2 separate regions of the Homo sapiens genome follow, and region 1 is linked to region 2. The links are contacts of gene promoters, found by promoter capture Hi-C in human tissues and cell types (Jung and others, 2019). All regions are on one chromosome and are shown on one strand. The core of a region is centred on a gene start or on the middle of the fragment in contact, and the rest is flanking DNA. Distances in the headings are between cores, read along the strand shown. Region 1 overlaps APOE (apolipoprotein E). Region 2 holds the start of ERCC2 (ERCC excision repair 2, TFIIH core complex helicase subunit).

The links. Contacts are between HindIII fragments. The study calls those that stand out against the background at their distance.
Region 1: a fragment that was not itself captured here is called in contact with the fragment with the promoter of ERCC2 in region 2 in 1 of the 25 tissues and cell types used here (spleen).

What each region holds. Positions count from the first base shown.
Region 1 is chr19:44,906,031-44,912,221 of GRCh38, forward strand. It overlaps APOE (apolipoprotein E), which reads left to right. Exons shown (of 4, transcript NM_000041.4): 2 at 572-637; 3 at 1,730-1,922; 4 at 2,503-3,363. The coding sequence starts at 595. The coding sequence ends at 3,220. Among named protein-coding and RNA genes, the nearest start is that of APOE, 3.3 kb to the left of the region's middle. RefSeq lists an enhancer at 688-1,490. The HindIII fragment of the contact is 5,856 bases long and covers 1-5,623 here.
Region 2 is chr19:45,369,323-45,375,893 of GRCh38, forward strand. ERCC2 (ERCC excision repair 2, TFIIH core complex helicase subunit) reads right to left here and starts at 1,251. Exons shown (of 23, transcript NM_000400.4): 1 at 1,214-1,251; 2 at 811-910. The coding sequence starts at 1,218. RefSeq lists enhancers at 5-846, 1,465-1,544, 6,019-6,571. The HindIII fragment of the contact is 25,658 bases long and covers 1-6,571 here.

The DNA.
Region 1 (6,191 bases), core at 1,446-3,945, 460 kb before region 2:
CGACCCGCTAGAAGGTGGGGTGGGGAGAGCAGCTGGACTGGGATGTAAGCCATAGCAGGACTCCACGAGTTGTCACTATCATTTATCGAGCACCTACTGGGTGTCCCCAGTGTCCTCAGATCTCCATAACTGGGGAGCCAGGGGCAGCGACACGGTAGCTAGCCGTCGATTGGAGAACTTTAAAATGAGGACTGAATTAGCTCATAAATGGAACACGGCGCTTAACTGTGAGGTTGGAGCTTAGAATGTGAAGGGAGAATGAGGAATGCGAGACTGGGACTGAGATGGAACCGGCGGTGGGGAGGGGGTGGGGGGATGGAATTTGAACCCCGGGAGAGGAAGATGGAATTTTCTATGGAGGCCGACCTGGGGATGGGGAGATAAGAGAAGACCAGGAGGGAGTTAAATAGGGAATGGGTTGGGGGCGGCTTGGTAAATGTGCTGGGATTAGGCTGTTGCAGATAATGCAACAAGGCTTGGAAGGCTAACCTGGGGTGAGGCCGGGTTGGGGCCGGGCTGGGGGTGGGAGGAGTCCTCACTGGCGGTTGATTGACAGTTTCTCCTTCCCCAGACTGGCCAATCACAGGCAGGAAGATGAAGGTTCTGTGGGCTGCGTTGCTGGTCACATTCCTGGCAGGTATGGGGGCGGGGCTTGCTCGGTTCCCCCCGCTCCTCCCCCTCTCATCCTCACCTCAACCTCCTGGCCCCATTCAGGCAGACCCTGGGCCCCCTCTTCTGAGGCTTCTGTGCTGCTTCCTGGCTCTGAACAGCGATTTGACGCTCTCTGGGCCTCGGTTTCCCCCATCCTTGAGATAGGAGTTAGAAGTTGTTTTGTTGTTGTTGTTTGTTGTTGTTGTTTTGTTTTTTTGAGATGAAGTCTCGCTCTGTCGCCCAGGCTGGAGTGCAGTGGCGGGATCTCGGCTCACTGCAAGCTCCGCCTCCCAGGTCCACGCCATTCTCCTGCCTCAGCCTCCCAAGTAGCTGGGACTACAGGCACATGCCACCACACCCGACTAACTTTTTTGTATTTTCAGTAGAGACGGGGTTTCACCATGTTGGCCAGGCTGGTCTGGAACTCCTGACCTCAGGTGATCTGCCCGTTTCGATCTCCCAAAGTGCTGGGATTACAGGCGTGAGCCACCGCACCTGGCTGGGAGTTAGAGGTTTCTAATGCATTGCAGGCAGATAGTGAATACCAGACACGGGGCAGCTGTGATCTTTATTCTCCATCACCCCCACACAGCCCTGCCTGGGGCACACAAGGACACTCAATACATGCTTTTCCGCTGGGCGCGGTGGCTCACCCCTGTAATCCCAGCACTTTGGGAGGCCAAGGTGGGAGGATCACTTGAGCCCAGGAGTTCAACACCAGCCTGGGCAACATAGTGAGACCCTGTCTCTACTAAAAATACAAAAATTAGCCAGGCATGGTGCCACACACCTGTGCTCTCAGCTACTCAGGAGGCTGAGGCAGGAGGATCGCTTGAGCCCAGAAGGTCAAGGTTGCAGTGAACCATGTTCAGGCCGCTGCACTCCAGCCTGGGTGACAGAGCAAGACCCTGTTTATAAATACATAATGCTTTCCAAGTGATTAAACCGACTCCCCCCTCACCCTGCCCACCATGGCTCCAAAGAAGCATTTGTGGAGCACCTTCTGTGTGCCCCTAGGTACTAGATGCCTGGACGGGGTCAGAAGGACCCTGACCCACCTTGAACTTGTTCCACACAGGATGCCAGGCCAAGGTGGAGCAAGCGGTGGAGACAGAGCCGGAGCCCGAGCTGCGCCAGCAGACCGAGTGGCAGAGCGGCCAGCGCTGGGAACTGGCACTGGGTCGCTTTTGGGATTACCTGCGCTGGGTGCAGACACTGTCTGAGCAGGTGCAGGAGGAGCTGCTCAGCTCCCAGGTCACCCAGGAACTGAGGTGAGTGTCCCCATCCTGGCCCTTGACCCTCCTGGTGGGCGGCTATACCTCCCCAGGTCCAGGTTTCATTCTGCCCCTGTCGCTAAGTCTTGGGGGGCCTGGGTCTCTGCTGGTTCTAGCTTCCTCTTCCCATTTCTGACTCCTGGCTTTAGCTCTCTGGAATTCTCTCTCTCAGCTTTGTCTCTCTCTCTTCCCTTCTGACTCAGTCTCTCACACTCGTCCTGGCTCTGTCTCTGTCCTTCCCTAGCTCTTTTATATAGAGACAGAGAGATGGGGTCTCACTGTGTTGCCCAGGCTGGTCTTGAACTTCTGGGCTCAAGCGATCCTCCCGCCTCGGCCTCCCAAAGTGCTGGGATTAGAGGCATGAGCCACCTTGCCCGGCCTCCTAGCTCCTTCTTCGTCTCTGCCTCTGCCCTCTGCATCTGCTCTCTGCATCTGTCTCTGTCTCCTTCTCTCGGCCTCTGCCCCGTTCCTTCTCTCCCTCTTGGGTCTCTCTGGCTCATCCCCATCTCGCCCGCCCCATCCCAGCCCTTCTCCCCGCCTCCCACTGTGCGACACCCTCCCGCCCTCTCGGCCGCAGGGCGCTGATGGACGAGACCATGAAGGAGTTGAAGGCCTACAAATCGGAACTGGAGGAACAACTGACCCCGGTGGCGGAGGAGACGCGGGCACGGCTGTCCAAGGAGCTGCAGGCGGCGCAGGCCCGGCTGGGCGCGGACATGGAGGACGTGTGCGGCCGCCTGGTGCAGTACCGCGGCGAGGTGCAGGCCATGCTCGGCCAGAGCACCGAGGAGCTGCGGGTGCGCCTCGCCTCCCACCTGCGCAAGCTGCGTAAGCGGCTCCTCCGCGATGCCGATGACCTGCAGAAGCGCCTGGCAGTGTACCAGGCCGGGGCCCGCGAGGGCGCCGAGCGCGGCCTCAGCGCCATCCGCGAGCGCCTGGGGCCCCTGGTGGAACAGGGCCGCGTGCGGGCCGCCACTGTGGGCTCCCTGGCCGGCCAGCCGCTACAGGAGCGGGCCCAGGCCTGGGGCGAGCGGCTGCGCGCGCGGATGGAGGAGATGGGCAGCCGGACCCGCGACCGCCTGGACGAGGTGAAGGAGCAGGTGGCGGAGGTGCGCGCCAAGCTGGAGGAGCAGGCCCAGCAGATACGCCTGCAGGCCGAGGCCTTCCAGGCCCGCCTCAAGAGCTGGTTCGAGCCCCTGGTGGAAGACATGCAGCGCCAGTGGGCCGGGCTGGTGGAGAAGGTGCAGGCTGCCGTGGGCACCAGCGCCGCCCCTGTGCCCAGCGACAATCACTGAACGCCGAAGCCTGCAGCCATGCGACCCCACGCCACCCCGTGCCTCCTGCCTCCGCGCAGCCTGCAGCGGGAGACCCTGTCCCCGCCCCAGCCGTCCTCCTGGGGTGGACCCTAGTTTAATAAAGATTCACCAAGTTTCACGCATCTGCTGGCCTCCCCCTGTGATTTCCTCTAAGCCCCAGCCTCAGTTTCTCTTTCTGCCCACATACTGGCCACACAATTCTCAGCCCCCTCCTCTCCATCTGTGTCTGTGTGTATCTTTCTCTCTGCCCTTTTTTTTTTTTTTAGACGGAGTCTGGCTCTGTCACCCAGGCTAGAGTGCAGTGGCACGATCTTGGCTCACTGCAACCTCTGCCTCTTGGGTTCAAGCGATTCTGCTGCCTCAGTAGCTGGGATTACAGGCTCACACCACCACACCCGGCTAATTTTTGTATTTTTAGTAGAGACGAGCTTTCACCATGTTGGCCAGGCAGGTCTCAAACTCCTGACCAAGTGATCCACCCGCCGGCCTCCCAAAGTGCTGAGATTACAGGCCTGAGCCACCATGCCCGGCCTCTGCCCCTCTTTCTTTTTTAGGGGGCAGGGAAAGGTCTCACCCTGTCACCCGCCATCACAGCTCACTGCAGCCTCCACCTCCTGGACTCAAGTGATAAGTGATCCTCCCGCCTCAGCCTTTCCAGTAGCTGAGACTACAGGCGCATACCACTAGGATTAATTTGGGGGGGGGGGTGGTGTGTGTGGAGATGGGGTCTGGCTTTGTTGGCCAGGCTGATGTGGAATTCCTGGGCTCAAGCGATACTCCCACCTTGGCCTCCTGAGTAGCTGAGACTACTGGCTAGCACCACCACACCCAGCTTTTTATTATTATTTGTAGAGACAAGGTCTCAATATGTTGCCCAGGCTAGTCTCAAACCCCTGGGCTCAAGAGATCCTCCGCCATCGGCCTCCCAAAGTGCTGGGATTCCAGGCATGGGGCTCCGAGCCCGGCCTGCCCAACTTAATAATACTTGTTCCTCAGAGTTGCAACTCCAAATGACCTGAGATTGGTGCCTTTATTCTAAGCTATTTTCATTTTTTTTCTGCTGTCATTATTCTCCCCCTTCTCTCCTCCAGTCTTATCTGATATCTGCCTCCTTCCCACCCACCCTGCACCCCATCCCACCCCTCTGTCTCTCCCTGTTCTCCTCAGGAGACTCTGGCTTCCTGTTTTCCTCCACTTCTATCTTTTATCTCTCCCTCCTACGGTTTCTTTTCTTTCTCCCCGGCCTGCTTGTTTCTCCCCCAACCCCCTTCATCTGGATTTCTTCTTCTGCCATTCAGTTTGGTTTGAGCTCTCTGCTTCTCCGGTTCCCTCTGAGCTAGCTGTCCCTTCACCCACTGTGAACTGGGTTTCCCTGCCCAACCCTCATTCTCTTTCTTTCTTTCTTTTTTTTTTTTTTTTTTTTTTTTTTTTTTTGAGACAGAGTCTTGCTCTGTTGCCCAGCCTGGAGTGCAGTGGTGCAATCTTGGTTCACTGCAACCTCCACTTCCCAGATTCAAGCAATTCTCCTGCCTCAGCCTCCAGAGTAGCTGGGATTACAGGCGTGTCCCACCACACCCGACTAATTTTTGTATTTTTGGTAGAGACAAGGCTTCGGCATTGTTGGCCAGGCAGGTCTCGAACTCCTGACCTCAAGTAATCTGCCTGCCTCACCCTCCCAAAGTGCTGGGATTACAGGCATGAGCCACCTCACCCGGACCATCCCTCATTCTCCATCCTTTCCTCCAGTTGTGATGTCTACCCCTCATGTTTCCCAACAAGCCTACTGGGTGCTGAATCCAGGCTGGGAAGAGAAGGGAGCGGCTCTTCTGTCGGAGTCTGCACCAGGCCCATGCTGAGACGAGAGCTGGCGCTCAGAGAGGGGAAGCTTGGATGGAAGCCCAGGAGCCGCCGGCACTCTCTTCTCCTCCCACCCCCTCAGTTCTCAGAGACGGGGAGGAGGGTTCCCACCAACGGGGGACAGGCTGAGACTTGAGCTTGTATCTCCTGGGCCAGCTGCAACATCTGCTTGTCCCTCTGCCCATCTTGGCTCCTGCACACCCTGAACTTGGTGCTTTCCCTGGCACTGCTCTGATCACCCACGTGGAGGCAGCACCCCTCCCCTGGAGATGACTCACCAGGGCTGAGTGAGGAGGGGAAGGGTCAGTGTGCTCACAGGCAGGGGGCCTGGTCTGCTGGGCCTGCTGCTGATTCACCGTATGTCCAGGAGCTGGAGCAGCACCCTCTCAGAGCCTCAGTTTCCCCAGATGTCAATGAGAGAATCAGCATCAGCCACATCTCCCACCTGAAGAATCGAACCTTGAGTTCTCACCTTTAAGAATTTTTTTTTTTTTTTGAGACAGTGCCTTGCTCAGTCGACCACGCTGGAGTGCAGTAGCACGATCATCAATCACTGCAGCCTCCAACTCAAGCAACCCTCCTGCCTCAACCTCCTGAGTAGCTGGGGCCACAGGCACCCACCACCATGCCTGGCTAATTCTTTCTTTTTTGAGATGGAGTCTCACTCTGTCGCCCAGGCTGGAGTGCAGTGGCACCATCTTGGCTCACCGCAACCTCTGCCCCCCGGGTTCAAGCAATTCTCCTGCCTCAGCCTCCTGAGTAGCTAGAATTACAGGCGCACACCACCACACCAGGCTAATTTTTGTATTTTTAGTAGAAACGAGGTTTCACCACGGTGGTCAGGTTGGTCTCAAACTCCTGACATCAGGTGATCCACCCGCCTCGGCCTCCCAAAGCACTGGGATTACAGGAGTGAGCCACCATGCCTGGCCATATTTTAAACTTTTTTGTAGAGATGGGGTCTTACTATGTTGCCCAGGCTGATCTCAAACTCTTGGGCTCAAGCAGATCCTCCTGCCAAAGCTTCCCAAAGTAGTTGGATTACAGGTGTGAGCCACCACGCCCCACCAACCTATGAAGATGTCTAAGCAGA
Region 2 (6,571 bases), core at 1-2,500:
GTCTTAGGCAAGTACCTTCACCTCCCCAGACCTCAGTATCCCTATCTCTAAAATGAGCCTAAAGCCAGGCGTGGTGGCTCACACCTGTAATCCCAGCACTTTGGGAGGCTGAGGCAGGTGAACCACCTGAGGTCAGAAGTTCAAGACCAGCTGGGCCAACAAGGTGAAACCCCGTCTCTACTAAAAATACAAAAAATTAGCCAGATGTGGTGGCGCGCACCTGTAATTCAATCTCAAAAATAAATAAATAAAATAAAATGGGCCTAATAATAAAACCTTCCTCATAACATGACTATGAGGATTGTGAGAAATTGCAGGTTAAATATTTGGCACAGTAGCTGATATATAGTGAACTTTTCTCCCTTCTTTTTTAAGAGACAAGTGTCACTATTGCCCAGGCTGGAATGCAGTGGCACAATCATGGCTCACTGCAGCCTCCAACTCCTGGCCTCAAGCGATCCTCCTGCCTCAGCCTCCCGAGTAGGTGGGATTACAGGCGCCCGCCACCACACCTGGCTAATTTTTGTATTTTTAGTACAGACGGGGTTTCACCGTGTTGGCCAGGCTGGTCTCCAACTCCTGACCTCAAGTGATCCGCCCGCCTCGTCCTCCCAAAGCTCTGGGATTACAGGCGCGAGCCACCGCGCCCAGCCTATTCACCATTATTGTTTTAGATAACGGAAGATTATGGGGTCCTGGATTCCCAGGGACCTCGGACTTCTAAAATCCAGACGTCCTGCAATCTGTCTTAGGCCCAGGCGTGGCAGCCCCACCGGTCGAGTGGGCGGGTCGGGCCCACCGGCCACCCACCTTGGCGTCCAGCGTGCGTTTGAGCTCCCGCATGTAGGAGAACTGCTCGGGGTAGATGTAGTCGTACGGGAAGTAGACCAGGAGCCCGTCCACGTTGAGCCTGGCGGCAGGGGCTGCTGGGTCAGTTCCCGTCCCCTCAGCCCCTCTCCCGCCTCCACAGTGCCCGGTCGTCGAGCCCAGAGAAGGGTGACGGGCCCGGCGCCCCCGGTAACCCTCAGGTCCTCAGGAGCCTCGGGGCCCCCTCAGTGTCTCCTCGCTATCACTGCTGCTCCCTGCGGCTGCCCCCGTCCCACCCCTTCACCCTCCCCTCGCCCCCTTGGGGACCCAGGCGCGCCCACCGATGACCCCATCTTCAAGACCCCCCGCGCCCGCTAGCGAGCGCGACCCCCAGCCCCCTTCTCACTTCATGGCGCCGGCCGGACTGTGCAGCGGGGTCGACCCGCCTCCCTCATGAATATTCAGCGAGAGGCCGGGTCGTGGACATCCTCGAGGGCTCGCTCCACCTATATTACGAGACCATTGGCTAACCTGCCCGTCAATCCGCTAGGGCAGAGCCAATCGGGATACTGCGCGTGCGCACGGAAAAGCGAGGGCGGCTGACTCTCGGGTGAGGCGGTGCGGGAGGCGTCACTGAGGATCGTCGAGGGCCAATCAAAAAGAAAACATGGAAGGGAAAGAGCCGAGAGACTCGATCTCATTCACTAGAATTTGGTCCTCCTGCGCCTGCCAAGATTGTCTGAGTATTGATCGAACCCAGGAGTTCGAGATCAGCTTGAGCAAGATAGCGAGAACCCCCGCCCCTCCACCTCGTCTCAAAAAAAAAAAAAAATCGTCTCAGTAGCGAATAGTCTAACGGAGAATGACAGGGAAATTGGTGATCCTTTCTGGGCCCAAGAGTTAGAAATGGCTTTGCAGGCCGGGCGCGGTGGCTCAAGCCTGTAATCCCAGCACTTTGGGAGGCTGAGGCAGGTGGATCACCTGAGGTCGGGAGTTCAAGACCAGCCTGACCAACATGGAGAAAACCTGTCTCTACTAAAGATACAAAATTAGCCGGGCGTGCTGGCAAATGCTTGTAATCCCAGCTACTCGGGAGGCTGAAGCAGGAGAATTGCTTGAACCTGGGAGGCAGAGGTTGCAGTGAGCAGAGATGGCGCCGTCGCACTCTAGCCTGGGCAACAAAAGCGAAACTCCATTTCAAATATTAATAATAATAACTAATAAATAAAACATAAATGCTAGCTTTTGTTTGTTTCTTCAACAAATAGCTATGTGGCATCTACCATGTGTCTGATCCTGTGCTGGCCCCTGGGAACAGAAAGGTGACCATGACAGCCTCAGCACCTGCCCTCAAAGAACAGATTTTTTTCCTTGAGACAGGGTCTTTCTCTGTCGCCAAGGCTGGAGTGCAGTGGCACAGTCACAGCTCACTGCAGCCTCCACCTCTTGGGCTCAAGCGATCCTCCCACCTCAGCTTCCAGAGTAGCTGGGACCACAGGTGTGCACCACCAAGCCCAGCTAAGTTTTATTTTTTAAATTTTTTTAGAGACGAGGTCTCACCACGTTGCCCAGGCTGGTTAAACTCGCAGGTTCAAGTGATCCTCTCCCCTCAGCCTTTCAAATTGTTGGGATTACAGGGGTGAGGCACCAGGCCTGGCCTCAAAGAACAGATATTAAATATACAAATGAATATATGATTACAGCCTGGAGTGGTGGCTCGTGCCTGTGGTTCCAACACTTTGGAAGGCCAAGGCGAGTACATTGCTTGAGCTCAGGAGCTAGAGACCAGCCTGGGCAACATGGTGAAAACCCGTCTCTACAAAAAATGCAAAAATTAGCTGGGCGTGGTGGCGTGCACCTGTAGTCCCAGATACTCAGGAGGCTGAGGTGGGAGAATCACCTGGGCCTGGGAGGCAGAGGTTGCAATGGGCAGTGATTGTGCCACTGCACTCCAGCCTGGGCAACAGGAGTGAAAACCTATCTCAAATGTGTGTGTGTGTGTGTGTGTGTGTGTGTGTGCGCACGTGTATAATCACAAGTACAAAAGTGCTGTGAAGGAAAACTTCAAGTCACCATAAAGATTGATTATGGGCTGGGTGCAGTGGCTCATGCCTGTAATCCCAGCACTTTGGGAGGCCAAGGCAGATGGATCACGAGGTCAGGAGTTCAAGACCAGCCTGGTCAACATGGTGAAACCCTATCTCTACTAAAAAAAAAAAAAAAAAAAAAAAAGCCAGGCATAGTGGCATGCATCTGTAATCCCATCTACTCGGGAGGCTAAAGCAGGAGAATTGCTTGAACCCAGGAGGCAGAAGTGAGCCAAGATCACGCCACTGCACTCCAGCCTGCGTGACAGAGCAAGACTCCGTCCCAGAAAAAGAAAAAAAAAAAAGACTTATTATGACAGGATGTCTACTGTCAACTGTGGGGTGTGAGTGTTGGCCAAGTGATCAGAGAAGGCTTCGTGGAAGAAGCGAGGTTTGAGTAGAGCCAGAAAATAATTAGAAGAGATCAACCAGCAAGAGGGGATGGATGAGAGAAGTGAGAAAGGTGTTCCAGGGAGAGAGACCATCATACACAAAAGCTCTAGGCCAGAAGAAAGCTGAGGCCTGTGAGTGCTGAAAGGAAGCCTGTGGGGGTGGAGCTCTGAGTTGAGCACAGGGAGCAGAGAAAGGGCAGCTGGAGGGGAAGGCAGGGGCAGATCGAAATCTCTTTTTTAAATTAATTAATTCTTAATTTATTTATTTTTGAGACAAGGTCTCACTCTTTCGCCCAGACTGGAGTACAGTGGCACAATCTCAGCGCACCGCAACCTCTGCCACCCAGGCTCAAGCAATTCTCTGGCCTCAGCCTCCCTAGTAGCTGGGATTACAGGTGCGCACCACTACTGCCCAGCTAATTTTTATACTTTTAGTAGAAACGGGGTTTCACTATGTTGGCCAGGCTGGCCTCAAACTCCTGACCTCAAAAGATCCACCCACTTCAGCCTCCCAAAGTGCTGGGATTACAGGTGTGAGCCACCCTTCCCGGCTGTATTTTTGGAGACAGAGTCTTGCTCTGTCCCAGCCTGGAGTATGGTGGTGTGAATTTGGCTCATTGCCACCTTGACCTCCAGGGCTCAAGTGATCCTCCCACCTCAGCCTCCTGAGTAGCTGGGACTGCGGGTACACGACACCACGCCTGGTTAATTTTTTTTAATTTTTTGTAGAGACGAGGGTATCTCACTATGTTGTCCAGGCTGGTTGAACTCCTGAGCTCAAGCAATTCTCCCACCTCAGCCTCCCAAAGTGGTGGGATTACAGACGTGAGCCACTGTGCCCGGCTTAATTTATTTACATAAATTTTTTTATGTTTACTTTTCTATCTCCTACAGGAAGAAAATATATTTTGTTATTGACAGGGTCTCGCTATGTTGCCCAGGCTGGTATTGGGCTCAAGCCATCCTGTTCCCTCAGCCTCCCAAAGTACTGGGATTACAAGCGTGAGCCTCTGCATCCAGCCCAGATCCAAAATCTTTACTGTCACCTACAGAGTCCTCTGTAACTAGCTTACTGCTCATCATCCCCATACCAACCCACCTTACTGCTCTGATCTCCTCCTCTCTCTCCCCCAGCTCATTTTGTTTCAGCTATGCTGGTCTCCTTGCTGTCTCTAAAACATAACAAGCACATCCCATCTCAGGGCCTTTGCACCAGCTATTTTGTCTGCCTGGAATGCTGTTTCCCCTGATAGCCATGTGGCTGACACACTCACCTCCCTCAGCTCTTTGCTCAATTGTCAACTTCTCGGCCCGGCATGGTGGCTCACACCTGTAATCCTACCACTTTGGGAGGCTGAGGTGGGCAGATCACCTGAGATCAGGAGTTCGAGACCAGCCTGGCCAAGATGGTGAAATCCCGTCTCTACTAAAAATACAAAAATTGGCAAAGCATGGTAGCACATACCAGTAATCCTAGCTACCCGGGAGGCTGAGGCAGGAGAATTGCTGGAACCCGGGAGGCAGAGGCTGCAGTGAGCCAAGATCATGCCACTGTACTCCAGCCTGGGTGACAAAGCAAGACTCTGTCTCAAAAAAAAAAAAGTCTCCTTCTCAATGAGGGCTTCCTGACCACCAAATTAAATCTACCTCCTAGACACACACACACACGCACGCACGCACGCACACACACACACGCACGCACGCACACACACACACACACACACACTATATCCCCTTTCCCTGCTTTATTGTTCTTGAGAGCTCATTTAACCATGTGACATGCTGAATATTTTACTTATTTATTTTGTTTAGAAAGCTCCTGGCTGGGCGCGGGGGCTCACGCCTGTAATCCCAGCACTTTGGGAGGCTGGAACAGGTGGATCATGTGAGGTCAGGAGTTCCAGACCAGCCTGACCAACACGGTGAAACCTCATCTCTATTAAAAATGCAAAAATTAGCTGGGTGTGGTGTCGCATGCCTGTAATCCCAACTACTCAGAAGGCTGAAGCAGGAGAATCGCTTGAACCTGGGAGGCAGAGGTTAACGCTGAGCCGAGATCGCGCCATTGCACTCCAGCCTGGGCAACAAGAGTGAAACTCTGTCTCGAAAAAAACAAAAGTCAGCTCCATGGCAGGAGTGATGGCTCACGCCTATAATCCCAGCACTTTGTGAGGCCGAGGCGGGCGGATCACTTGAGGTCAGGAGTTGGAGACCAGCCTGGCCAACATGGTGAAACCTCATCTCTACTAAAAATACAAAAATTAGCCGGGCGTGGTGACACATGTCTGTAGTCCCAGCTACTTGGGAGGCTGAGGCTGGAGAATGGCTTGAACCTGGGAGGTAGAGGTTGCAGTAAGCCAAGATCGCGCCATTGCTCTCCATCCTGGGCAACAGACTCCGTCTCAGAAAGGAAGAAAGAAGGAAAGAGAGAAAGAGAGAAAGAGACAGAGAGAGAGAGAGAAAGGGAGAAAGAGAGAAAGGATGGAAGGACCCTGACAAGCACTGTTGCATAAAAGTTTCTTTTCTCTCTCTTTTTTTTTTTTTTTTTTTTTTGAGACAGGGTCTCACTTCTGTTGCTCCAGCTGAAGTGCAGTGGTGAGAACATGGCTCAGTGCAGCCTCAACTTCCCAGGCTTAAGTGATCCTGCCACCTCAGCCTCCTGAGTAGCTGGGACTGTAGGTGTGCACCACCGTGCCTAGCTAATTTTTTGTATTTTTAGTAGAGACATGGTTCCGCCACGTTGCCCAGGCTGGTCTTGAACTCCTGGGCTTAAGGGATCTGCCCGCCATGGCCTCCCAAAGTGCTGGGATTACCAGCGTGAGCCACTGTACCCAGCCTGAGTATAGGTTTCTGATAAATTTTAGGATCATATTGTTTGGACTGGGTAAGAATTTCCAGAACTCTAATGAAGAAACTGACTGGTTTATATTTTATTTTATTTTATTTTATTATTTTTGAGATGGATTTTCACTCTTGTTGCCCAAGCTGGATTGCAGTGGCACGATCTTGGCTCACCACAACCTCCGCCTCCCGGTTTCAAGTGATTCTCCTGCCTCAGCCTCCCCAGGAGCTGGGATTACAGGCACCCACCACCATGCTCGGCTATTTTTTTTTTTATTTTTTTATTTTTAGTAGAGACGGGGTTTCACCATGTTGGCCAGGCTGGTCTCGAACTCCTGACCTCAGGTGATCCACCTGCCTTGGCCTCCCAAAGCGCTGGGATTACAGGCATGAGCCACTGTGCAAGGCCTAGGCTGGTTTATAAAATTGCTAAACCAAGCAGAA